7 separate regions of the Homo sapiens genome follow, and all the other regions are linked to region 5. Evidence: promoter capture Hi-C in 16 types of primary human blood cells and fetal thymus (Javierre and others, 2016). All regions are on one chromosome and are shown on one strand. The core of a region is centred on a gene start or on the middle of the fragment in contact, and the rest is flanking DNA. Distances in the headings are between cores, read along the strand shown.

Region 1 (3,934 bases), core at 215-2,714, 4.0 Mb before region 5:
TCATTCAAAAAGTCTCTCAGTCAAGAATATACCTAATTTCCATTCAAGAGGCTGTCAACTTGATAGCCAGTTCAATAACTTTATTCAAGAGTATGCCACAAACAAGCAGAAGTTCTTGCAGAAGGCTTGTAAAAGAGATTTAATTTATCTATTACAGGGATCACTATGATTAAACATATTCTTTAAACCCAAAGGTCACCTGCTAGGTTCCTGTGGTTGGCAGATAAGAGTATTTATGCAAAACTTTTTGATAGAAATCAAAGGTGAAACAGAAAGTTATTATTATCATAAGCAAACATTATCACTGGGCAAATCCAGTGCACGGAAAGTTACCTAGAAAGCTAGCTACCTAGAAGAGATGAGAATCTGCAACTTTAAGGTACTTGACTTAGTAATTCATACTGATCAGTATAAAGTTCAAGCTCCTTACTATAGCTTACAGGCCCTTTTATAATGTGGCATATTTTCATTACCTAATTTCCACTTATCTTTCCTGGATTCCCCTGAACCTGGGTTAGTTCCCCCTCCAATATTTTCTGACAGCAACTCTGTACTGTAATTATTCACTTGTTATCTTCTCCCGTTTAACTGTAAAATCTTTGGGGGGTAGGAAATCTGGCTTGTTCAATATTAATTCTCCTTACGTCTAGCACTCAGTAGGAACACAGTGAATAAAAAATGGAAAAATGTATAGACAATAAGCTACCATTCTCACTTATGGAAGACCTCAAGATATCTAAAGTATGCCCATTTACGCCAATCCTAGAGCTTCTGAATAACTAAAACTTCCTTTACCATAATGAAACACCATTTCTCAAGAAGGACTACTATTAAATATTTATCAAGCATCTATTATATACCAGGTCCTAGAACTACAGAAACAGATGGAATTCAGATTTTACTCTCAAATTGACTTATTCCACCCTTAAGCTTTAACAGAAATAACAACAACAAAAACTAAAACATTAAAAAATTCTATTAATAGCCTTTTTAAGAGTGGTGCAGTGGGAGGTAGGAAAGGAAGAGAAAGAAGTACAAAATCAGAAAGCTCTCTCTGATTAAATATGTCCAGCAATGTATTTAACCAAACAGTTAAGTCTTGCATGGATTATTTTCATCAAGATTAAGTCCATAATGAAATAATCATTGCCATCAAAACTGCTACCTCTGTGTAAACAGGCATAATTGAGCATTTCTCAAAATATTAATATATTCTAGAACCAAGAGGGTTGGGGGAGATGGGTTATCAAGGTCTTGGCTCTCTCTCCTAATATAACAGGGTACTGACATTAATTGAGAGGAAAACACCTAATTTGCCCTCCTGCAATCTCCAACTGTGGAGAATGTCAGGTAAATGTTTTAAATGCCATTCTGAACCCATTCTGAACTTCCTTTTACTAATTCAGTCTTTTATTCCCTTATCTTGACCTTATATCAGGAAATTATCCAACTCTAACATTTACACGTCAGAGAGAACAGGCACCACTTAACCTTATCAGAATATAATAGGTTCATATAAAAGATTTTATACTCTTGTCAGTCCCATGGCCAAATGCTGAGTAATGTCCACCTCCATGTTTTTCCTTTAATCTTTTTGTTCATGTTTTCTATGCCCATGCTTTTGAAGCTATCACTAGTGGTGATAGTGGCTGCCATCATAGGGAGGGCAGCTGTCTCAAGTTACTTTTCTTGAGGCCATCTATCAGCACCATAGTCTTGACCAATCCAACTCCAATTATTCTCAAATATCTGTCACAGTGAGATGGCATAGGTTCTATTTTAAATATGGAACATAATAAAACATTTAACCTGTAATGTAAAGTGAATGCCATAAAAATCTGTTTGGACTTTTGTAGTACGACTAGGTCAGAATTCACTTGTTAAAGAAATGCAGGTATCAGAACGGTCTAACCTTGCATTACTTGATTAATATGGTTTTCACTTCCGTCAACAGCTTCAGTTTAACATGCCATGGACTTTCCCCAATGTCATACAAACCAAAGCTTTGTAAATTAAATTATATTTTCTAACTAACATAAAAATTTCAGCATATGCTTGATTTCCAATCAATGTTGAACTGTTAAGTTTTCTAACTCAGACAAGTACAGCAGCTTCTCATTTTTTGAGACTGGCTCTGGCAGGAGCTCACTATTTAAAGAAATGCAACATGGAAGTATATTTCTACAATATGAATAGTGAGCCAACTTACTGTTCAAACCCCTAATGCTCTAATACTTGATTAAAAAAAAAACCTAATGCTCTGTACTTGATTTTAAAAAATAACAATAACATTTATTGATCACTTACTACATGGTCAGTCCTTCTGGCTGCTTTACATTGCATTTATTTTATTTAATCCTCACAACAGTAATAGTCCTCCTTGAGAAAATGTGTTTCATTATGGTAAAGGAATTTTAGTTATTCAGAAGCTCTAGGATTGGTGTAAATGGGCATACTTTAGATATCTTGAGGTCTTCCATAAGTGAGAATAGTAGCTTAATGTCTATACATTTTCCCTGTTTTACAGAAAGGGAAAATAGCAACAGGAAGGTTGAGTCACTTGTCCAAGATCACACAGTTCATAAGTGATGGAGCCAGAATTCCAACCCAGGGCGTCTGACTTCAGAGCCTAAAGCTCTCTCTTGTAAAACTGTGGAAGCTGATCACAGGCTGGAAAAGACTTCATATAAAAAACCTGGGCCCACCAAATATTTGTCAAGTTTTGTCCTGGCTGCTGAACCTAAAAATCTAAGGTAATCTTTCTCAAGTGTAAATTCGGGAAAACAATGACACTGATTTGGTGAGAAATTATTTGAGTTAATACATTTAGCAGGGACCTTGGAAGGCAGTAAGCCCTGGGAAAACTTTGTCTCTTGTCTTTGGCATCACCTCCGCGAAGCCTGGTGGGACGCGGCTGCCCCTGCGCTGTCTGTGCACCTCCTAAGAACCAGGAAGCGCGGTGACCTCCAAAGAACAGGACTGTCCCAAATCAAGCGGGATTACCACCGCCCCTCTCCCATTTAACAGCTGAGGACACTGAGGTCTAATGGATTCCAAGTACTTAAATAGGTGAGCGGCGCGCAGGGGCGAGTTGCAAGCCCTGGGATCCTTCCAGCTCGCCGCTTCCCCTCCCAGGGGCTCAGGTTTCTCTTTCATCTGTGAGGTCCTCTCCCGCCCGGACGCCGGGGCCCGCCATCCCCAACGTCCACCGCGAGCTCCCCAGATCCATGGTCTGGAGCAGGTCCAGAAGACGCACCTGGCAGGACGCCCCGGGCGCCACAGTCGCCCTCCACACGGGCCACCCCAATCCTGCCGCGGCTCCGTGGCTCTCCTTACCTTTACCTGAGGTGAAGCAAGGACGTGGAAGCAGCTACGGCGCGCTACCAAGCACCTCACACCGCTCTCAACAGTACTGCTCAGCCTCCCGGCCCGCCGATGCGCAGGCGACAGCAGCCAACTTGTAAGTCACCGCTGGTCGCAGCCAACTGGAAGGCACCCAGCGCCTCAGGGCAAGGCGGGCCGAGCCCCCAGCCCCGCCCCCTGGCCCGATCCCGGGGGCTCCGGGGAGGGGGGGCTGAGAGGAGGTGGCCGGAACAACGTGCGCTTGTTCGGATTGGCTGGCGCGGGAGCGTGTGGAGGGCTGATTGGTGGCCGATAAATGGAATGATTCCGCGTGGGTGTGGGCTGGCCCGAGCCGCGCCAGGGTTCCCTGGATGTCTGGGGTTGCCTGCAGGTTTGGATTGGTTGGGTTGGGTTGTCCTGTGATCACTTAATTGTGAAAGAATTTTGTCAAGCAGTAAACCGACTGGGAGAAATTGAAACAGAAGGCGAAGTGAAGGATCACAGTGAGGGATAAGGTCCAAATTCATCCCGCTTGTGGATATCCTAGTATCTCGCAACTACGCTACTCCTCCCAGGACTAAAAGTCAAATAA
Region 2 (3,886 bases), core at 640-3,139, 4.0 Mb before region 5:
TCTGTGATGAAACCTCTTTTGAGTAATTAGAAAACATTACTGCTTGACAAATAAGCACAAATGCTGAGAAAATAGGTATTTTAAAGATAAATGTGAAGATTCAATTTTATCTAGAAATGCTACTACTTTAAAGATAGAAATTGATTTTAATTCTCCCAAAATCAGTGGCTAAGTGTGATAGATTCTTCCATTTTACTATTTCTTCCATCCATTCTGACATCTCCATTCATCTGCTGCTACCACAGCCTCATTTTTAAGCATTATATTACAATCCTAATGGTATGGAACAGATTTTGCTACTTCCAGTCCTTCTCAGCCCAAATCCGTCTTCTATAGTAGTTCCTGACTAATTTTCCTAAATCATTGTTTCCGTGAGGCCAATCCTCTCCCACAGACTAATGATCTACAGTGTAGTTTATTAAAAGCATTATGGAAACTTGCCTCAAGTTAGAAAGAGCTTAGATGTCCAACAATAGAGTATTGTTAATATAATTTGGGGTATCAATAAAGTAAAATTATATACAGTCGTTAAGAATATGTTATAGAAAAAATATTGATCTGAAGAAAATATTTGCAAATTATTGAATATAAACATGAAACAAGGCATGTAACAGTATATATAAATTCTAGAGAAGGAACTATATACTCTTTGATTCAAAACTTTTGTTTCTGAGACTTTTAAGAAAATAAAAAAGAAAGGGTAAAAAGAACCCAAGTTCATCTTCATCTAAGAATTGTTTTTAGTAGCATAAAAATTAGAAACTGCAAGTCCAAAAATACGTGATTAAATTTCCATTTCCAATCAAGAAGCCTGACAAAAGACATTCAAAGTATATTATCTGACCACAATAGAATTAAATTAGAAATCAGTAAAGTAATCTGGACAAAACTCAAATATTTAGAAAGAAAATTACACACTGCTAAATAACCCATGAGTCAAAAAAGAAATAAACAAAAAATTAAGATTTTTAAAAACTGAATGAAAATAAAAAAGACATATGAAAATCTATTGTTTACGACTAAGGCAGTAATCATAAGGAAATTTTTGCTCTAAATATCTAAATTAAAAAAGAAGAAGTCTCAAGTCAATGACATCAGCTTCCACCTTAAGAAAAAAGAATTTCAAGTTCCTTAAAAGATACAAACTATTCTACTAAGCTCATTCATGAAGAAATAGATAACCTGAAGAGCACTATATCAATGAATGAAATTAAATTTAGAGCTTTAAAACTTTCCACGAAAATTCCATTTTCAGATGTCTTCACTGGTGAATTCTATGAAACATTTAAGGACGAAATAATAGCCTTGCAACCCAAACTCTTCCAGAAAATTGAAGTCTTCCCAACTCATTCCACGAGGCCAGCATTATTACATTAAAGCCAGAAAAAGATATTATAAGAAAACTACAGAACGTTATTCCTCACGAACGGAGAGACAACAATTCTTACCAAATTATAACAAATAAAATAATAAACAATTTATTAAAAGGATAATACATCATGACCAAGTCGGGTTTATCTCAGGGATGCAAGGTTAATTTAACATTTGAAAAACAATCAATGTAATTCACCATGTTGACAGACTGGGGAAAAAAAAAAAAGAGATGACGAAAAAGCATTTGACAAATGCCCAAAATCTAATCCCAATAAAAACAGTCAGCAAAATAGGAATAAAAGGAACAACCCCAACCTGATCAAGGGCATCTACGAAACTGTACTGTTAGCGTCTTATTAATGATGAAAGATGAAATGTTTTCCCCTAATATGAGGAAACAGGCAAGGATGTCTACTCTCTCCCTTCTATTCAACATTGTCCTGGAGGCTTTAGCCAGTCCAGCCAGTCAAGAAAAAGAAATAAGAGATATCCAGATTGGACATAAGAAAATAAAATTTTCTTTATCCACAGATGAAACGATCATCTACCTAGAAAACCCTATGGAATTTATATATATGTATTACATCTAATAAGTGAGTTTAACAAAGTTGGGAGATGCAAGATCAATATAAAAAATCAAGTCTGTTTCTATATACTAGGTACATACATACATACATAATTAAAATTAACATAATACCATTTATACTGGCATAAAAACATGCCATTAAATATGCATATTAGGGATAAATATGAAAAAAATGAACATGGCCTGTATATTGCAAACTAGCAAACATAATGAGAGAAATTAAAGTCTAAGTAAATAGAGATAAATGGCATGTGTTTGGATAAACATGACTAAAATATCAATTCTCCCTATTTGATCTACAGATATAATGAAATCCCAATTAAAATCTCAGCAGGCTCATCTGTAGATGTTGACAGCTAACTCTAAAATTCATGTGGAAATGCAAAGGGCATAGAATAGCCAAAACAACTTTTAAAAAGAAGAACTAAGTTATCTAACTTTTACTTCCTGTCTTCACATCTTGGTATAAAGTTACATTGATCAAAATTATGATATTCAATCAAGATAGACAAATAGGTCAATGAAATAGCCCAGCAATAGACCTATACTTACATAATTAACTGATTTTCAACAAAGACATAAAGGCAATTTAAAAATATGAGATCGTATAAATTATTTTGTATAGGATGCAGGTATTAAATTTTGCTATAAAAATGCACATGTCAACATATCGAGATTTTCCTGATATATTAAGAGAAGAGTATAGGGTCTTAAACAGTAGGTAAATTATTATTCTATTTTTTAACGGGATCTATATTTTTTCAAAAGGATGCATATATACACATACACATATACAATAAAAATAATAGTAAGAGCCTAGAATTTTTATAATTTTAGTTTTGCTTTTAGTGTTTTTGCTTCTATTTTGTTATTTATTTATAATAGACATGTACTATAATAAATGACAAAACCGAAACATTAAAATACTCTATAATTATTATATAAAATACAGTAAATATTGTTTTGGGGGAAAATTTATGTGTGTGGTATGAAGACTGAAAGATATATTCCAAATATTAACAAAGAGAGAGTTACAGATAGTCTTTTAGCTTTGTGTCTTCCTTGGTTTCCAAATATTTCACAGTGGGCACACTTGCTTTGAAAAATTATAAAGGCTATAAATATCATTTTTAAACTCTCAATAGTTCCATATAACCGTTGAGCTAAAGATCTAACTTCTTCATCTGACATGAAGATCGTACATGAACAACATGGCCCAATCTGACCTTCCTGCCTTTCCTCTGTCCCCACGCGAGTGCCCCCATTCTCCGCCTCATCACATCCTTCTGCTGACTCACCCACACTTCCTCTCCTCACTCCATTGCATTGCTGCCTCCACCCATCCTGCCGTCCGCTCGTACTTGGGCTGTGCTTCCCCCTCTGTGTCTGCCCACGTCACACCAACCTTTGAAGTCAAGTTCCTGCTGTCTGAAATTCTTCTGAGAAATGCCTTTATCAAGTTCCATCTCTAAATTCCTAGGGTTCTTCTGTCTCTCCCACGTGTTTGAAACCTAACCATATATGAGTTAAAGTATAAGCAAGTTTGAGATTGCAGGAGAGCCTATTTGATTCCACTGCCGTAATTGTACTTGATGTACATATTTACCCTATGCTAAAGAGGCTTAAGATTCTAGAACTGGATTGTTGGATCTTAAATCTTGGCTTTATAGAAAAGAACAAGATCATGTCTTTGCGGGAACATGGGTGGAGCTGGAGACCATTATCTTTAGCAAACTAATGCAGGAACAGAAAACCAAATACCACACGTTCTTACTTATAAGCTAAATGATACAAACCCATGGATACAAAAAGAAAGGAACAACAGACACTGGGGCCTACTTGAGGGTGAAGGTTGGGAGGAGGGAGAGGAACAGAAAAAATAACTATTGGATACCGGGCATAGTACCTGGCTGATGAAATAATCTG
Region 3 (3,441 bases), core at 142-2,641, 3.8 Mb before region 5:
ACATGTTTTATTCTGCCTAACTAGCCAGGAGGTTGTGAAACCTAGTACTGTAATTCAAGGAGAATTCATGCGCATATACATACACTTCCTTTCTGCAAAAACCCTTTGAGGTGGTGCTATAAAGAATCTCCCTCAAAAGCCACTCTGTTCCCAGGTGTTACTGGTCATATGAGAGGGCCAAATGTAAACTGAAACCATAAATGAGCTACAAGGATCATTTTCTCTGAACAACATTACATCAAAGATTAGATGGTGCCAAAAGATGATGCACTGTGCTGTCTCTCTAGAGACGTAGTCTTAGAGATCTGCCTAACCTTGTGAATGCTGCTTGGAGAAGAAGCACACAGTGGGGAAAACACGTTGCCACTGGAAGACAAAAAGGTAAGCCTGCAGAACACTGGGCCATTCAGATGATGTACGTAACCTCTGCACATTCTGGAAAGCAGAATAAAAGTGCTGGGGCTTAGGTTGGCAAGCATTCTGGCTTGGGGGCTAAACGAAACATGCACTGACCTAATTTAAACACACACATACACACACACACACACACACACACACACACACACACACTGGAGCTGGCTGTGGTAACAATGGGTAATTACAGAGTATGCATTATGAACACCCAACTACTGCACTCTAGACTCATAAATGCCCTCCTGCTAGAAAGGAAAGGAAGGCCTTTGTGGCACCTGCTGACACTCCTTGAGTTTCATTGCCTGGTAAGTCCTTAACATGTACAAATAGAGGTTGGGGGAGACAACTGTGTTTCAATAAGGAAGACAATGATGGCTCACTAATTGGTTAAACCCATTGGCATTAGCTTCGCTTCGGGTGTGTATTCCCACTACGGGCACAGAAAGCGTTCATATTTTATTAATATTATGCCACAGATGATGTTACTGTCCAACATTACATGTCAGGAAGGCAAAAGATTTACAATTCTTGATCTTATGAGTTGGGGTGTCTGAAACAAGCTTTGCAGACTTTAATAGTGGAATCCTCTAAATTCACTCTGCTCATCGTGAAGCCATCTTGAGAGGCCACTGATGAATATGTGGGAACCTGACAGCTGTGGAATTTTATTTCTAGACTTTAACTAGGCACAGAAAGGAAAAGGAAATCTCCTTGCTGGCAACAAAATGAAAGTGTTTACATGTGAAATTAATCGTCAGCACAAAGAGCTTTCACAGTCACTCTGTTCCACAATGTAATATTCTGCTTGTTTGGCTGCTGAGTGTTTTAAAATTTCATTTCTAAGAATAATAGCAAAGACTTTCAAGGGGGGCAAGAAATCAGGTCAGGAGCCAGCCACAAAAGGTTAACAGAATTACCCGACTTTTCTTTTTCACCACGACTTAAAACCATTCATTACGTGAGTTTTCTGGGCTTTGATGGTACATGGTTCAAGGCCAGGTGCAGCAACAGCCAGCTAATTCAAGCATAGTGAACACGGAGGTCAGCTGCAAACATTTACGTTGTGCAACATCGTGTTCCTCTCATTCCAGCCCCATTCCTTTCCAATAAGAGCACATTTAGCACAAAGCAATCCACCTAAAGACTCCATAAATCCAAAAAAGGGAGTCACTGATCGAGGAATTCTCAGATTTCTGCCAAGGCACCCTCCCTTGGACTGGAGGTCAGCCTGGTACAGTAATCGGAGCCAAACTGTGGACTGGACTCAAGGAATTAAGTTCAGCACTTCAAATCTTGACTTTTAATGGGCAATTTTTCTTTTCAGCAATGAAGAGAAAACAAAGTACAAATGGCTGGTAACAGCCCAAAGTAAACCAGGAGAAAAAGCACAAGAATAAAGCTTGGATACAAATCTTATAAGTAATATCTAAGAGCCTTTCCAAACAATGGGAAAAAAATAAAGCAGCCTTTTTAAAACTTGGTTTGAGATTATGCAGTTGTGAGTGAACAATAATAAAGCAAAGGCCACAATACAAGATAGTTGCTCTCTTTAGTGAAGAAAAAAAAAAAAATCAGCCTTTGTTAGCTTGCAGCAAAAAGGCCCCTCAGGCATTTAAGCACTGCATAAGCTTTTCTTTGCCCCTGTGACCTCAAGAAATATATTAATTCAAGAAATATGTTAATAAAATCTTTTACCTCCCTGGAGTGGAACCAGAATAAATATTTACTTAACACATCTGAGTTCTAAGTCTGGCCCACCTTATTCCATTATATAAATTGGTTTTAATTTGTAACTAAGAAATTAGGAATATGACATCTTGTGATGTTTCTCCGACTTTTAAGATATATTAAGAATTTAAAAAGAAAGAACAAACTTGAATACTAATTCTATATTATGCCCCAGCACACCAAACTGCACTTGTGAATTTTAGAATGGTATTATTCACCACAATTGAGAGTAAAAGCTGTTGATATGCTTTCTAATACTAGACATCTGGAGTAGCAGGGCTTTTTCCAAGCACATTCCAAGGTTAATAGGAAACATCTAGACTTGCTTTTATTAGCTGGTTTGAATAATTTTAAGTTTGCTATGCCGAGTTTCACCTTCAAATAACTATATGAAGTTTAATTTCTAGTCACCAAGAATGCTATGTTTTCTTTCCTTCTGTCCAAAAATTACTGTGCTATCCACTAAAATCTTATGAAAATTTTCCCCCAACAACATGAAAGAATAATTATTCAAAAATACGATTTCTTTTGTTAAAGCCTTCAGTTAAGGGCTGATGAGGTAAGTATTTATTTAGACATAGGATTTTGGATTTTTCTTGGTCTGGGTGGATGAGATAGTTAGTTGCTTTGAAGAGTCTGAAGCGATTTCAAAGCATTCCTCTTGTTGACATGTGCAAGACAGAGCTTTCCAGAAAGTCTGCATTTTCCCCCGAAGTGCTCATTCCAAAAGAAACTATTCACTCTTTCCATCAATGTATCCTCTTCTACTGGTAGCTGCAAACCCTTCAGCATTTAGCTAAAGTTATTTCACAATTCAATGCTTGTCTTGCACTGTCCTGGTCATTTAAAAACTGGTATCTCTTCAATAGCAAATAGTATCATAACAGACCACTAAATTTGGAGGGAAAGTGGTTTCTATTGCAGATGGATGTAATTAAAATTGGTGTAAATCACAGGGTACAGAATTCTTATCTGGTAAGAATTCTGACTTTTTTTTAAAGAAGAAAAAATATATCCAGATCTGTATCCACATGCTATTTAAATGCTCAGGACAAAAAGAAGCCACTAAGAGGCTTCTAAGAAAACTGTCAGAAAACTAAAAGTACAAGAGGAATGGAATAGGGTTAGAATGGATATGCCCCTGCACACCACCTGGGTTTTCAACCCCTCTGGGTGGAGCCAAGTCTGATTAAGTAGAGGGCTTCTCTCTGATGAGGGATTCAGTCCGGCAGTACCATGTGAGGCAGAGAAGACTGAAGGGAGGAGCTCCCAACCCAAACAGATGTGTTTCAGGGCTAG
Region 4 (3,877 bases), core at 694-3,193, 4.8 Mb before region 5:
TAACAATGAATGATTCTGATAATGAATCAGACGTTCAGCAAGAATATAGCACTACTCATTAAGATCATAAGGGTCCATGCAGAATAGGTCTTAGTGAAATAAAAATCTGCTACCTTCAATCAAGTATGTATGTGGATTACCCAAACCAAGAATGTTTATACTTTAAAGAGAAATGTTTCAGCTCATGAAATGGCTCCAGCAGTCTGCCTGGGTGCTTGGCAGTTCATCTGCAACCTGGCACAGACCCAGATTTCTTTTTTTAGTTTTACTATTAATTCTTCATGTATTTTTTTAAAGTTCCAATAAAAATGAGGTTGAAACTGTATACTTTAAAAGACAATTTCTGAAAAACAGATAATATTAAAATTATATCAAGACTTTGGAAAGGTAACATGCATTAGAGAATATAAGATTTAGACTCTAACCTGAGGAAGCAAATTATTTGACCAACCAAATGATAGAATTTGTTCAGACATACTGTTAAGATGGTAAGGTAAATAAGAGACTCTTACTACAGTCTTATCCCCTCCTAGAAATTTTTCTAATAGACAACTTGGATATTTTTCTCAAGATTAACGGCTTTTAAAAATTGTTTTATTACACATCTCCAATATACCCCCCTCTCTCTTTCACACACACACACACACACACACACACACACAGAGCGCCAAATTTTTGAACCTTCTCTTTTGAAGTCCAAGAGTCTTCATACTAAATAAATAATAAATAAATAAAAATCAAAAAGGTGCAATTTCACCAACCACAGAGGATGTGTGAAGACTGGTCTTCTGAATTCAAGGTTGCCCCAGGATAAGCGAGTCCAGGGGAGATTAAATGAATTTCCCTATTCATAGCAATAAGAAAGTTCCCACCTCCTTTATTCTCCCCAACAAAAAAGCTTCCCCTATCAAACGACCTGGTGGCTTTTCCAGGATGGACTGCTTAGACTCTTAGGAGGGGCCCAGATAGCAGGCCCAGCCTGGGGTTGCGAGTAGTGTTTCTTCTAACAAAGCTATGGCACCCTGAGAAAGGAGGCTCAGTATTCCCCTGTGAGGATCTTTGTGGGTCTTTCAGTTGCCCTAGGATGGTGAATATGACAATAACCTGAGCTCCCAAATCATCTGAAGCAGGACCTCTTAATCACTCACCGCTGCGCTCTGAGCCGCTGGGAACCAAGGCTGGTTGCTAAGGACGCTGTGGGAGTCGCTCTGAGACAGACGTTGCTCTTTTACGGTCTCGTGACCAGGGCTTAGCCAATCAGGACTTATAAGTGAATTTCCACCTGCCCTGTCCCGTCTCCACCACATTTGTGTTCAATTTCTAAAGAATAAATGCAATGTTGTGTGAAAGACCTTTATTCGTTTTTAAAGAACATAGTAATGATTTGTTTCGAATATTGTACATACTTGCATATCCTGCAAGAAGCCACGGCAAGAAGCGGCTTCACAGTGCTTTAATGTCTCCTCAGTGTCTTAATGCTGCTTCCCCAAAACAAACCAGCACGCCTATCATACCAAAAGTAGCTATGTCTTTAAATTAAATTGCCGTTCGTAAGTTCCTTTTACATAGAAAATTTGGAGCAGTCAGTGTCCTCAGCACCCGTCAGTGAGTAAACAAAGCACCTAGAATGTTCTGCTATGTACTAAACACCAGAGGGCGAATTTAAACACAAAAGAACGCCTCTTTTTAAAGGTAGTATGCAATAGAATTATCTAATATAAGTCCTTTAAAAATCCTTGTAGAATTCCTATGTCTACTAACGAGCAACTGTATATATTTTACAAAGGTTCACCAGTGTAAAATACTATATGGAAGAATGGGGAAGGGCATTTATGATTAAATTCATACGTAGGCCGGGCGCAGTGGCTCATGCCTGTTATCCCAGCACTTTGGGAGGCCAAGGTGGGCGGATCACGAGGTCAGGAGTTCGAGACCATCCTGGCTAACATGGTGAAACCCGTCTCTACTAAAAATACAAAAGTTAGCCAGGCGTGGTGGCACCCACCTATAATCCCAGCTACTCAGGAGGCTGAGGCAGGAGAATTGCTTGAACCCAGGAGATGGAGGTTGCAGTGAGCCGAGATCATGCCACTGCACCCCAGCCTGGGAAACAGAGCGAGATTCCATCTAAAGAAAAAAAAAATACTAAAACGTAATATACAGGGATTGTCCTGTGAAATGACCTGCCTTTAAAAATTAGAACTTTGAAAGAAAATTTAACTTGAACTACTTCGATTCGGAATTAAGTTTTTTTGTTTTTTGAGTGCATTTTTATGTTTAAAACAGAAATTACAATATGTGATCTCAGGCTTCTCTGACGTATCACTCCTAGAAGATCAGTAAGTTAAAGGTAATAATGAAAAGTGAAATTGACAAAGACTATAAACTACATATGTGAGAGAACAAATCCTAGAATATCAACAGTGCTTACCATAATCCAGATAAAATAAAAATGAAAAGACTGTGGTATTTAATAATAGCCTGGGGGCTTGCTTGTTTTAATTTCAAGAGATCTAGAAAAGTGTTAAAAGCATAAAAAAATACAAACTGTTAACCAGGTTATTCATAATCAAATGAAGATTGAATTAAAAAGGAATAAAAGGAAGGCCGAATAAAAAATTCTTCTCCATAATATAAGAATCAGTTGAAACTATAGCATGTTTAGAGAAAAAAAGTCACCCCATCGATTCTACAGTGAAGACAACAGAACAAGTTTATATAAGGAAGAATTCACAAATACATATATATATATATTACACATATCTACTTATTCTAAATATATCTACTGATTTTATATATGTATCTACTGATTTTATTTATATATATATCAGTAGAATGAAAGATTACAGAAAAAGCATAAAATTTATATATGATAAATTTGCCATTTTAACTCAGTGGGGAAAAACTGTACAGAGGCTGAGCACAATTTGAAAGAAAATAAATCTGAACTACTATCTCATACCATAGCAACAATAAATCTCAGAGGAATGAAGCTTAAAACAGGAAATAATTTTAAATAATTTTAAGATAATATTGGTATAACCTTAGAGTCACAATAATATTAAGCTAATAGGAGACCCACAATGATTTTAAAAAATGACAAGAATATTTAGAAAATTTATGTAAGAAAAATAAATCTAATAAAGTCATACCTCCCCTTTCTCCCTTTAATTAGTCATCTACATTGAAGTTTTGACAAGACAAATCTAATTTTTTCAAATTATTATATATATACCTATATATATATAATCCTAAAATGGCCATTAATTAGCAATTAGGAAAATAAGCATGTCAAAACCATCCTAACCCCTTAGTATGGCACAATTATGCTTTCAGAAACTATATCATTGCCTACTTGCCCAGTTTTTTTCTGCTTTTTTTTTTTTTACCAGTCTTTTTTATTTTATTTTATTATTATTTTTTGAGATGAAGTCTCGCTTTTGTCCCCCAGGCTGGAGTGCAATGGAGCGATCTCAGCTCATTGCAACCTCCACCTCCTGGGTTCAAGCGATTCTCCTGCCTCAGCCTCCCGAGTACCTGGGATTACAGGCGCCTGCCACCACGCCTGGGTAATTTTTGTATTTTTGGTAGAGACAGGGTTTCACCATGTTGGCCAGGCTGATCTCGAACTCCTGACCTCAGGTAATCCACCCACCTTGGCATCCCAAAGTGCTGGGATTAAAGGCGTGAGCCACCGTGCCTGGCCCAGTCTTCTTTATTTTTAAAACTTTTTCCACTGCTATGTAATCAATTAAAAAATATTTTAAGTTTCCTAAACATATCATGAGCTCTCGTTTCTTAATAACCTCATGCATGCTCTTCCTCTGTCTGAAAATATACTTGCCCACTCACTCCTCAACTGCTGCCACAAACTCAC
Region 5 (3,544 bases), core at 474-2,973:
GTCGGTTTGACACTTCCAAATCAGCTTTGTGTTCTACAAGGTACTTCACTATTTCCAAATGGCCATCGAAACACGCAGCTCGAAGAGGAGTTGAATTGGTTAAAGTCGTGTTGTTGACAGATGCTCCATGATTTAACAAGGACTGGACCACCTTCAGATGTCCTGCTGCAGAAGCGGCCCATAAAGGGGGAGCCCCCTCAATGGTTTCGCCATCAAAATTGACGGAGCCCCCAACTTCTATGGAGGCACTGCATTGCTCTAGGAGGAATTCCACCATGTCAAGGTGCCCATACCTGGCGGCCATCAAGAGTGGCGTGGCCCCATTTGTTTTTTCAGAGATCAAGGAGGAAACCTCCTCTTTGGATTTGCTTGCCAACAATTTGGTGAGAAGCCGGAGTTTGCCATCCCGAGCTGCGTTAAATACTGCTGTCTTTAGATCCATTTATGTCCAGTTGAGAGGCTGTGCTTTATTTATCTTTCAAAGCAGAGCTCCAGTTTAACTCTATCGACACAGGCAAGAGTCACAGGAACCAAAGTCCAATGTTAATTGCTGCACCCCAGAACGGATACACAACCACGAAGAGTATGTTCCGTCCTACTGCTTTCCAACATCTGACAACCAGGGCACCAAACTAGAGAAAGAAAAAAAAAGTAGCAGCATTTAATTTTCTATAGAAGAAGGCAAAACACTTCTTAATTTCCACTTCTGTGGGAAGAAAGGAATAAAAGCTATACTTCAGGCACTACTCCATCCCACACACCCCCCCCACCCCCAAAGAAAAGGTGGTAAAGAAAAATACAGAAGGATACACAGAGACCCAAATGTTCTGGTCGCAGGCAGTCTCCTCCATGTGCGGAAAATTTAAACACTACAGGCAGCCCGTTTTCTCGCCTCCAGCTCTAACCAGCCAAGCTTTGTTCTAGTTTTGCTTTGCACACGCCCAGGGAGAGTACAACCGAAAGAGGCAGGAGACTCGGGTTCAGAAATGTTTCTCTTTCTTGCAACTGCAGGAGAGCTGGCCAAGGGCGCCAGGCTGGAAGGCCTGAGGCCGGGTTTCGAGAAAGAACAAAAAGGTCGGACACACCAAACCCCGGCTAAGGCCAAAACTGTGCCCCGAAAGATTCTCTTTCCTTTAAAACTACTCACGGCTCTCAGGAAATCCGCCTGCCTTTTAGTCATTAACTTCGCCCGCCCCATTTCGATCACCCCCCACCCCCCGCCAAGGGATGATCCGCAGGTTCCTCAAACCACAGTCGCCCCAACACAACCTTCCCCTCTCCCTGTTCCAGACAACGGCAGCCCCCTCCCAATCTCCTCCATCGACCACAACCCCCTCCCGATGGGCCAAGCTGTGGCCTCCAGCCCGCTGCCCGCCTTCGGCTCCCCCGGCGCCCTCCTTCCCGCCCAGGCCTTCCGCGGGCACCTCAGGCCCCGGCCCGAGCCCTGGCAGGCCGCTGCCGCCGCCACTACCTGCCCGGGGACTAGTCCTCCCCGCCGCCGCTGGTCACTCGGGCTTTGTCCGTCCCCTTCAAAGGGAAACCGTTGTCCCCACCGCCGCCCGGGCCGCCCTGCTCCGCCTGCGGCCGCACAGCTCCTCCATGCTCCGCGCCCCAAAGGAATGAATCCGGCCGCGCTGTTCGCCACGCCCCGCCACCCGAGCTGCCTCCCGCCCTTAGTCGGCTCGGACTGCAGCGGCTGCAGCGACTGCTGCGACGGATGGTGTAATGGGCTGCGAGCCGGGGGCCGGACAAGCCTGAGCGTCACATCACTGACTGTGCCGCCACGCCATTGGGCCGGGGGAGGGCGGCGGCCGCGGCCAGCAACAGCCTAGGCGCGGGGCGGGGCGTCGCGGCCGGGGTGGGGCGACGGGGAGGGGGCGGGGCCTGAACTACTGGGAGGACGTGCCTGCGTGCAACGCGCTGGGGGGCGGGGCGCTGCGAGGGGGCGGATCTGTGCCCATCGAAGCGGCCCGAGGCAGCTCGAGTTCTGAGATCTCGCTGGCTCTTCTCCTCTCGGATTTTCGGGGTGCTCCCTTAGGGAATCTTTCGGTCCCATCTCAGAGACCCCAGAAGGGAAGTGTATTAGTGCGTTTTCACGCTGCTGATAAAGACATACCCGAGATTGGGTAATTTATAAAGATAAAAAGATTTAATGCACTCAGAGTTCCACGTGGCTGGGGAGGCCTCACAATCAAGCCAGAAGGGGAAAGGCACGTCTTACATGGCAGCAGGCAAGAGAGGAAAATCAGAGCCAAGGAAAAAGGGAAACCCCATATAAAACAATCAGCTCTCCTGAGACGTACTCACTACCACCAGAGCAGCATGGGGGAAACAGCCTTCTTGATTCAATTATCTCCCACTAGGTCCCTCCCACAATATGTGGGAATCATGGGAGCTAAAATTCAAATTTGGGTGCGGACCAGTATTACCCTCACACACGTGAAGTCTCTCGGACTAGTCTTCCGTCCTTACTTTGGTGGGCCCTGGAAATTACCAAGCTCGTAATTACACCTCAGAACACACACGGAGGAAACTGAAATTTCAGAAAATGTGATTAGTTTTGGAGGCTGTCAAACTGACTCTCTTTCTAAAGTAGCCTCTAAAAAGCATAAAGGCTACGAGGAATGGTAAACCCTAAGAGCAATGTAAAGTCAATGAGGTCAGGTTCTTGAGCTCTGAGTAATAAATCGGGAACTAAAGCTTAAAAGGTTATATATATGAATGAAAAGAATTACTTCTTCATATAGTAGTTGATAAACCTCTGGAATTTGATGCTAAAACCTACGTTGCATTAAACTAGGATGAAAAAGTTTAAATGTGTTTGGGAAATAACGCCCATAATGAATCCTGATGAGAAAACAGAATTTTTGAAAATGGACCTTCAATCACTTTGTTTGAGGGAACTTAAGCTCACATAATTCCTTAGTACCACTAGGAGAAATAGAATATTACAGTAGGCAGTCTGACCCTCAGCATATGTAATCCATAACGTTATGTTAGAAGTCATGCAGCACTAAAAACATTTATAAAAAATCACAACTTCATTTTTGTATATTGTAGTGTTGTTCAGAAGTTTATGTAGTTTTGCATAATTGAAATAATTTTCATACAACTATATATTTTGCTTTTCCTTTCTATACTCTAAACGTTTCTTATGTTTTTACAGTCTTAATAATTTTTAAGTATAGCATAGTATTTCCCTTAGGTAGTCAGTATCAGACTACACTCAACATCAGATTCCCAAAACTGAAGTTAAGGTAATTGCCACTGAGAAGAAAATATAAAAGAATAGAGTATAAAGGATAAGATTGACCATCCATAAAAATTAACCAGCCAAGAGGACTGGCTGTTTTATCCCCAGCATATGTCACAGTTCTATACTCTCCCAGGGTACAGATAACAGTGTACAGTGTCCCAACCAAGGCCTAACCTGAGCTGACCTGTCTCTCTCACCTAATTCAATAAGATGTAAACATTCACATCAGCCATCTTCAAACTGAGCTCTGTATCCCTCATGGGATTGTTAAGGGATAGACGGACACTT
Region 6 (3,654 bases), core at 446-2,945, 3.9 Mb after region 5:
GAAGTAACACCTTTGGGTAAATTGAATTACAATCTTTTTAAGTAAGATTGACATGACTTTTCCGTGCTACAGTTACATAATAATGGTAAAGCTGAGTCTTAACTTCCTGTGGCCTGATGCTAGAGCCATTGTTTTTAACCCCTATGGGATCTTGACAGCTGGAAGGTGAACTGTAGTGGGCAAGGTGCATTGCCTTTGAAGTCAGGCCAAGTTTTAAATCCTGGCTCTGCTGCCTAATTATATGACCTCTCTGTTTATAGCTGTCTTAGCTAACTTCCGGGATTATGGTGAGGGTAAATGACAAAAAATTAAAGACTTTCGGAAAGGGAAGAGAAAGGAACCAATATCAGTCCCTGCTTACCATATATGACTCACTCTGCTCAAGAACTGGATATATCAAAGTGAAGGTCTTGTTGACTGAGGTCTTGTTGACTCAAGGCACATCCTAGCCCCCTTATACATGTTTCTCCTAGATGCTTAAAGGAAAAGCTCTGTGTCTTAGTCTGTTTTCTGTTGCTTATAACAGAACACTTAAAACCGGGTAATGTATTTTAAAAAAGGAATTTATTTCTTATAGTTATGTAGGCTGAGTAGGCCAGTGCTGAGGGGCTACATCTGGTGAGGAGGGCCTCCTTTCTGGTGGGGACTCTGTAGAGTCCCGAGATGGCACAGGGCGTCACAGGGCAAGAGGCTGAGTGTGCTGGCTCTCGTCTCTTTTCCTCTTCTTATAAAGCCACTAGTCTCACTCCCATGATAACCTGTTAATTCATTACCCGATTAATCTATTAGTCCATGAATAGATTAATGCATTTATAAGGGCAGAGCCCTCACAATTCAATCACTTTTTAAAGGCCCCACATCTCTTTTTTTTTTTTTTTGAGAGGGAGTCTCCCTCTTTTGCCCAGGCCGGACTGCAGTGGCGCTATCTCGGCTCACTGCAAGCTCCACCTCCCGGGTTCACGCCATTCTCCTGCCTCAGCCTCCTAAGTAGCTGGGACTACAGGTGCCTGCCACCGTGCCCAGCTAATTTTTTTTTTTGTATTTTTAGTAGAGATGGAGTTTCACTGTGTTAGCCAGGATGGTCTCGATCTCCTGACCTCGTGATCCGCCCGCCTCGGCCTCCCAAAGTGCAGGGATTACAGGTGTGAGCCACTGTGCCCGGCCAAGGCCCCACATCTCTATACTGTCACATCAGGGATTAAATTTCAATGTGAGTTTTGGAGGGGCTAAATATTTAAACCATCCCAGGCTGCTTTAGGCACTGATACACTCTCCGCAACGGTAAGTATAGTACTTAGTAATCAAGAATATATACTGATTGAATAAGTGAAACTGATATAATACAGGGAGAAAGATCATAAGAAGGCACATGTGAATTCCAGCTGATAATAAATGAGCCGTACATGAAATACCCACATCTCCCTTGGATACCTCCATGACTATCACCAATCTGGATTATGGGGGAAAACCTTTGAATAAATTTAGAGTAGCTCTTAGCTATTTGTCATTTTAAGAGCTAGAGTAGTTCTTAGCAAGTCGTTATTTTGTCATTTGCCAGTTTTAAAAAAAGTAATAAGGTTAATAGACTTAACATCAAATAGATTCATTTATTCATCTAACATGTATTTATTAAGCGTCTATTATGTAGCAAACACTGTTCTAGATGCCAGAGGAATATAGTGGGAATAAAACAGAGTCCCTACTTTCATGGTGCATATATTCTAGTGGGGAGTAGTGGAGGGACAGATAATCAAGAAATACATATGTAAAAATATAATAGATGTAGGTGCTGTGGAGAAAAAAATGAGTGAATGGAACAGAAAATGCTTTAAGGAGAGACTGCAGGAAGTGAAGGAGTGCGCCTTGAGGAGATCTGCTGTCGCGGCATCCCTGGCAGAAGAAGCAGCTGAAGCCAGGTTACTGAGGCTGCAGCAGGCATGGTATGTTTTAGGGTTAGGAAGGGAGCCAGTGTGGTTATATAGCGAGCAAGGTCATAAGGGAGACAAAAGTGAGAGATGAGGGCAGAGGGGTCCTAGAAGGCCAGATCACATAGGACCTTTAGTTCAGAGTAAGGACTAACTTTTACCCTGAGATGGGGTAAAAAGCAATGTACATAATAGTCATCAAGTAATATTGATGCTCAGATATGAACTTTATTTCTCTCTCAACATTTCAGTAAAGGAATTTATGATTCATATCTTATGTAACAAAGAATTAAGATCTTTTATAAATAAAGGACATTTACAAATCTATAAGCAAGTATCCCAAATAAAATGTGAACTAAATAGGCAAAACAATAATAAATATAAATATAAGCCATGAAAATAAAATATTACTTTACTAGTGCTCAAAAAAATGTAGACTAAAATAATGAGCTACAAATTATAATCATGTAATTGTCAGACTGAAGGCAATGATAATAACCAATGTTGTGAGAATGTGGGGTAACAGGCATTCTCACAAACACGTGGTTCTATTTTCAGGCTATTGATGCCTGATAATTTGGTACCTTGTACTTAGTTATCTATTTACCTACTTATAGAATACTTTTTATCGGATCTAAGTGTGTTTTAGAATTCCTTGGATCCTGGCTGGGTGCAGTGGCTCACGCCTGTAATCCCAACAGTTTGGGAGGCTGAGGCAGGAGGATTGCTTGAGGCCATGAGTTTAAGACCAGCCTGGGCAACATAGCAAGGCCCGCTGTCTTTGCCAAAAAAAAAAAAAAAAAGCCACGTGTGGTGGTGCATGCCTGTAGTCTTAGCTACTCAGGAGGCTGAGGCAGGAGGATGGTTTGAGCCTGGGAGTTTGAGACTTCAATGAGCTATCATTGTGTCACTGCACTCAGCCTGGGTGACAGTGATACCCTGTCTCAAGAAAAAACGAAAAGGATTTCCCAATATTCGTACATTCCCAATATAGCACGTATTTGACAAAATTTTGGGAATGCTTTTTAGGAAAAATCTTCTGTAGTTAATAGACTGTCCGAGTCACTGATTTATTTAAAATGACAGAAACAAGGAAAAGATTTATGTTAAAAAAAACCCTCCAGGGTTATGAACTAGATTTTATATGGAAAATGTACAAATGTATCACACTTTGGAACATTTTGATAGTTTCAGCTGAAAAGACTTGACCCTTGACTATCATAGTCTTACCATTTTTTGCTACCTATTTGAAAGCTATTTGAGTTGGGTGGTTGATTTATCTTTTGCTTCATATCCTCCCCCAACAAATGTGATTTTTTTTTTTTTTTTTTTTTTTTTTTTTTTTTTTGCTTAGTGGAACTAATGATCTTTTTAGGGTAAAAGAAACTTGCTTAACACATTTGAGGAGCAGAGTGGTACTGTAGTAGGTCCAATTTCTAGTGTAAATTTTGCCGTTTCTTATAGACTTAGGGACCCGTGGTAGGATAATCTTTTCCAAACTGTTTTCTTATCTGTGAAAGTAGGAACAATTGTTACTGCCACTCTCTTAAAAAGCTATCTGGAGATTAAATGCATCAGTGTACATAGTAGTTTTATTGAAATGTGAAGTACACACATATCAGTATAAGTTATTATTATTACTACTAGAATTTTAGCTATACGTTTAAGTGGTAACAGTGTCACATGTTATGGATACAATTCTCTTTGTATATAATTGCAAAAAGTATTT
Region 7 (3,957 bases), core at 384-2,883, 3.8 Mb after region 5:
TGTCCCTTTAAACGGGGATTTCAAGTGGTACCTTTAGTGCTCTATATCAGCCTTTTGTTCTAGAATGGATTTCTTTTTGAGACAGGTCTCCCTCTGTTAGCCAGGCTGGAGTCTGGAGTGCAGTAATGTGATCACAGCTCACTGCAGCCTTGACCTCCTGGGCTCCAGCAATCCTCCCACGTCAGCTTCCTGTGTCGCTGGGACTATATGCATGTGCCATCATGCTTGGCTAATTTTTTTTATTTTTTATTTTTGTAGAGACGGGGTTCCCCTATGTTGCCCAGGCTGGTCTTGAACTCCTTGACTCAAGTGAACCTCGTGCTTCAGTCTCCCAAAATGCTGAGATTACAGACATGAGCCACTGTGCCTAGCCTAGAACTAAATTGATGTACATATGAATCTGGAGTGATACCTGTTATAGTTTTTCAGTTTTTTTTCTTCCTCCCCCCGCATCCTCCTGCCCCCTCCCCTCTCCTGTCCCTCTTCCTGCCCCTCCTCCCCTTCCTCCTCACCATCTCATGAACCCTTGACTCCAGCGTAATGCAGTTTATTAATTCAGAAAACATTTCAGAACCTACCATGTGCATTTTGCATTAATTACTATACTGGTTTTAAAAATTGTTTTAGCCTATTATAGGGTTATTTGAGACACTAAGCCAGTACTCTTACGTGTTTGGGTCCCTTTCACTTCCAGTGGTTGGAATGTTTTAAAATAAGACTAGAAGAATAACAGCTCATATGATATTTGGCATGAATACTCCTTCAGTTTTGGAACAACATACCTGTTTCTTCATTGAATATTAGCAGTGACTCCATAATTCAAGGGATACTTTAATTGTAGTCTAATCCTGGCTTTTGTAACTGTGCTTTTAACTTAATTTATAATTGCATTAAAAGTATTCTTGGCCAGGTGTGGTGGCTGACACCTATAATTCCAGCACTTTGGGAGGTGAAGGCGGGAGAGTCACTTGAACCCAGGAGTTCAAGGCTGCAGTGAGCTGTGATGGCACTACTACACTTCAGCCTGGGCAATGAAGTGAGACCCTGTCCCTGAAATAAGATAAGATGAAATAAAATAATCCGTTTGGATATGTAAACATTTAGGTTTTTCTTCTGGCTTTGGAGTTTGTATTCCAACATGAGGTTTCGAGAAAATAATCAGTTAATACTGTAGAGACCCTTTCCTAAAAACTTGATTTAATGAGAACATTCCAACGTGTGCTTAATAACACGGCAGCTGTTGATGGTCAAATTTTCTCCTATCTGAGAGTCTGAGTGAATGTGCATATGTTGAGTGTGTGGTGTGTATGCGTACACACATGTTGTGGGAGAGTTCTCTGCTAGAATTGGGGAACAAGATGGAGAGAGAGATAATTAAATGAGTGCTTAAGGATTGAGTGGATTAAGTCCAACTAGCCTGGAACCTCTCTGGTTTCTTGGTAACCAGGATTATTATGGGTTATTTCTATGTATATTGGTGCACCTTTTATTCTATTATGCTTGACAGTACCTTCTTTATGTTAAAGAACGCCGAGGTGGATTTGTAGCCCATGTCTAGATATTTTCTAGAATAGAATCTGTTTGTCCATACATGTGAAAAGAACTGGCTTGGTTTAGGAAGTACATAATTAACAAGGTGGGACAGGAGTTACTAGTTTTCGTTTGTTTGAAAGATGTGAAAGAGGGATTAGACATGTTCTGTGTATCCCGAAGGCACAGCACCAGAACCAGTGGATTGAAGCACAGGAAAACAGATTTCTGTTCAGTTCAAGGAGTGTCCGAAGAGATCATGAACCATGGGTTGGTGGTGGGGTGGATGGAGTGTAGAAATTGCCTTTCAGTGGAGGTTGTCAAGACGACTACTGGGAGGGGACACAGGGGATTCAAGTAGTGGACTGGGAGTAGACATTGGACTAGATGATTTTTAAGGTTGATTTCAATCTAGCGACTGTGATTTTTAGGACATATTACATCTCCCGGAAAATGAAAAATGAAGATACATCTGGCAGTTGGGGAATTTCAGATTCATTGGTTCAGGGTCCCTAAAGGCTTTTTCTCTCCAACTTCTTCAAGTCCTCCTGCAATTATATTCTTTCTCTTGCACATCAATTTCTTTCCAGTTATGGAAACATCCCTATCACCATCAGAACATGCCTTTTTATCACCCTTCTTAAAAAACAAGTTAAAGAAATTTCTCTATTCAATGTAGCCTTCCAGCTCTATGGCACTTCTCTCCTGCCCATTCTGGCAGAACTGCTAGAAGACTTGTCTCCTGGGGTGTGTACAATCTCCCCTTCCTGCTGCCCCTCCCCACTCCACTACTCCTCAAAAACCCTTTCTGTTAAGGTCACCAAAGACCTCCATTTTAACAAATCCCATGGCCTGTTCTAGTCCTCATCTTTTTCAGTCTCTCAGTAGTAGTTGGCATCATCCATCCCGGCCCCCTTCTTTTTCTTTTTGTAGTATGACCTTGTAACCACCCCCACCCCCTCACTTCCCTTTGAAGCACTGTCCTGACTTGACTTCCAGGGCATCACATCCCCTTTTTTTCTCCTACCTGAATAACTGTTCTCTCCAAGGGCCTCTACAGATGGAATTGCCCCAGGGCTTAGTCCTTGACTTTCTTCTTCATACTACACTGTCTCTAGGGTTCTTAACCTGCTAAAAAAAAAACAAAAAACGAAAAACAAAAAACTAAAAAAGACTAGACTTGGCTGGGCACGGTGGCTCATGCCTGTAATCCCAACACTCCGGGAGGCCGAGGTGGGCGGATCACAAGGTCAGGAGATTGAGGCCATCCTGTTTAACACGGTGAAACCCCGTCTCTACTAAAAACACAAAAAAACTAGGCGGGCGTGGTGGCCGGTGCCTGTAGTCCCAGCTACTCAGGAGGCTGAGGCAGGAGAATGGTGTGCACCCGGGAGGCGGAGCTTGCAGTGAGCCGAGATCGAGCCACTGCACTCCAGCCTGGGCAACACCGTGAGACTCCATCTCAAAAAAAAGACTAGACTTGGATACCAAGTCTAGTTAATTGAGAACCTTTGGGGAAGACTTGTGGGCATCAGTTTTTGTTTTGTTTTGGTTTGAATTGGTTTTTTTTGTTCATATTTTGTTACTGGGTATACCAGCATACAGCCAAGATTGAGAATCTGGATGATTTCTAGTCCTGGAGGATAAATACAATACTAATAACTTCCAAATTAATGTATTTAACACATTTTTCCCAAACTCCAGATGTGATTATTCTGTTGTCTGTTTTACATTTCCACTAGAAATAGGCATCTTGATTGCATGCCCTTTACCCCACACTGGCTCCTTCCTGGGTTTGCCTTTCGTGCATGCAGCTCTCAGGCCACAAGCCCAGGAGGCATCCTGATTCCTCTGTTCACTCATCACACAGCTCACCTGGCAGCAAGTTCTTTCCACTTGCCCTAGCAAATACGCACATCCTAAATCTCACTGCTTCTCCCACCATCACTTCTCTTCTGGGTAGCCTCAGAAGCCTCCTAACTCCCCTGTGCTCTTGCACTGTCACTCTCAGACAGTCCTTGTGCAATGAGAATGGTCTTATCGCTGATCACAGTCATTCCCTTGCTCCAACCCCCCACGGCTTTCCATTCCAACGGACAAACTCCCCACTCCTTACCAGGAGCTACAGGCTCCCCTTCATGTGGCCTCTGCCCAATTCTGCTACCTAATTTCCTCCCACTCCCTCCTTCCCTGCCTCAGTCAGGCCACACTGACCACCATGCTGTTCCTCAAACTTCCCAAGCTCTTTCCTCCTACTTCAGAGCCTTTGCACACACCCCTCCCTCTGCCTGGAAGCCCCTTCCCTATAGATTGTTCCTTGGCTCTCTCTCTAATTTTTCTCAGGTTTCTGCTCAGATGTTACCCCAGGAGAAAGCCTATCCAAAATGCTCCTCTCTCCCACCCACTCTCTAGCCCCTGCCTCTGGTT

Evidence for each region. The method cuts DNA at HindIII sites, captures the fragments that hold promoters and counts their contacts. A CHiCAGO score of 5 or more calls a contact.
Region 1: a fragment that was not itself captured here is called in contact with the fragment with the promoter of FEM1C in region 5 in 4 of 17 cell types (non-activated CD4 T cells, total CD4 T cells, total CD8 T cells and 1 more); the score reaches 9.9 in non-activated CD4 T cells.
Region 2: a fragment that was not itself captured here is called in contact with the fragment with the promoter of FEM1C in region 5 in 2 of 17 cell types (naive B cells and activated CD4 T cells); the score reaches 7.0 in naive B cells.
Region 3: a fragment that was not itself captured here is called in contact with the fragment with the promoter of FEM1C in region 5 in 1 of 17 cell types (fetal thymus); the score reaches 5.2 in fetal thymus.
Region 4: a fragment that was not itself captured here is called in contact with the fragment with the promoter of FEM1C in region 5 in 1 of 17 cell types (naive CD4 T cells); the score reaches 5.7 in naive CD4 T cells.
Region 6: a fragment that was not itself captured here is called in contact with the fragment with the promoter of FEM1C in region 5 in 1 of 17 cell types (total CD4 T cells); the score reaches 5.2 in total CD4 T cells.
Region 7: a fragment that was not itself captured here is called in contact with the fragment with the promoter of FEM1C in region 5 in 1 of 17 cell types (M0 macrophages); the score reaches 5.4 in M0 macrophages.

What each region holds. Positions count from the first base shown.
Region 1 is chr5:111,509,049-111,512,982 of GRCh38, forward strand. STARD4 (StAR related lipid transfer domain containing 4) reads right to left here and starts at 3,487. Exons shown (of 6, transcript NM_139164.3): 1 at 3,337-3,487. It overlaps STARD4-AS1 (STARD4 antisense RNA 1), which reads left to right and starts at 3,178. Exons shown (of 7, transcript NR_040093.1): 1 at 3,178-3,460. RefSeq lists enhancers at 136-255, 3,122-3,331, 3,812-3,934 and a silencer at 3,362-3,731. The HindIII fragment of the contact is 1,073 bases long and covers 929-2,001 here.
Region 2 is chr5:111,527,156-111,531,041 of GRCh38, forward strand. The region is part of intron 1 of STARD4-AS1 (STARD4 antisense RNA 1); the gene reads left to right. Among named protein-coding and RNA genes, the nearest start is that of STARD4, 17 kb to the left of the region's middle. RefSeq lists enhancers at 2,889-3,886, 3,337-3,386. The HindIII fragment of the contact is 5,472 bases long and covers 1-3,886 here.
Region 3 is chr5:111,741,293-111,744,733 of GRCh38, forward strand. The region is part of intron 2 of NREP (neuronal regeneration related protein); the gene reads right to left. Among named protein-coding and RNA genes, the nearest start is that of NREP, 14 kb to the right of the region's middle. The HindIII fragment of the contact is 839 bases long and covers 973-1,811 here.
Region 4 is chr5:110,725,479-110,729,355 of GRCh38, forward strand. TMEM232 (transmembrane protein 232) reads right to left here and starts at 1,193. Exons shown (of 14, transcript NM_001039763.4): 1 at 1,149-1,193. The HindIII fragment of the contact is 2,095 bases long and covers 897-2,991 here.
Region 5 is chr5:115,543,052-115,546,595 of GRCh38, forward strand. FEM1C (fem-1 homolog C) reads right to left here and starts at 1,724. Exons shown (of 3, transcript NM_020177.3): 1 at 1,472-1,724; 2 at 1-632. The coding sequence starts at 442. RefSeq lists enhancers at 1,273-2,039, 1,581-1,875 and silencers at 1,305-1,474, 1,525-1,574, 1,675-2,014. The HindIII fragment of the contact is 1,787 bases long and covers 912-2,698 here.
Region 6 is chr5:119,459,011-119,462,664 of GRCh38, forward strand. All of the region lies in intron 2 of HSD17B4 (hydroxysteroid 17-beta dehydrogenase 4), which reads left to right. Among named protein-coding and RNA genes, the nearest start is that of HSD17B4, 8.3 kb to the left of the region's middle. RefSeq lists an enhancer at 1-416 and a silencer at 2,562-2,779. The HindIII fragment of the contact is 3,959 bases long and covers 1-3,654 here.
Region 7 is chr5:119,318,223-119,322,179 of GRCh38, forward strand. It overlaps a transcript of TNFAIP8 not described here. Among named protein-coding and RNA genes, the nearest start is that of TNFAIP8, 36 kb to the right of the region's middle. RefSeq lists an enhancer at 99-358. The HindIII fragment of the contact is 8,252 bases long and covers 1-3,957 here.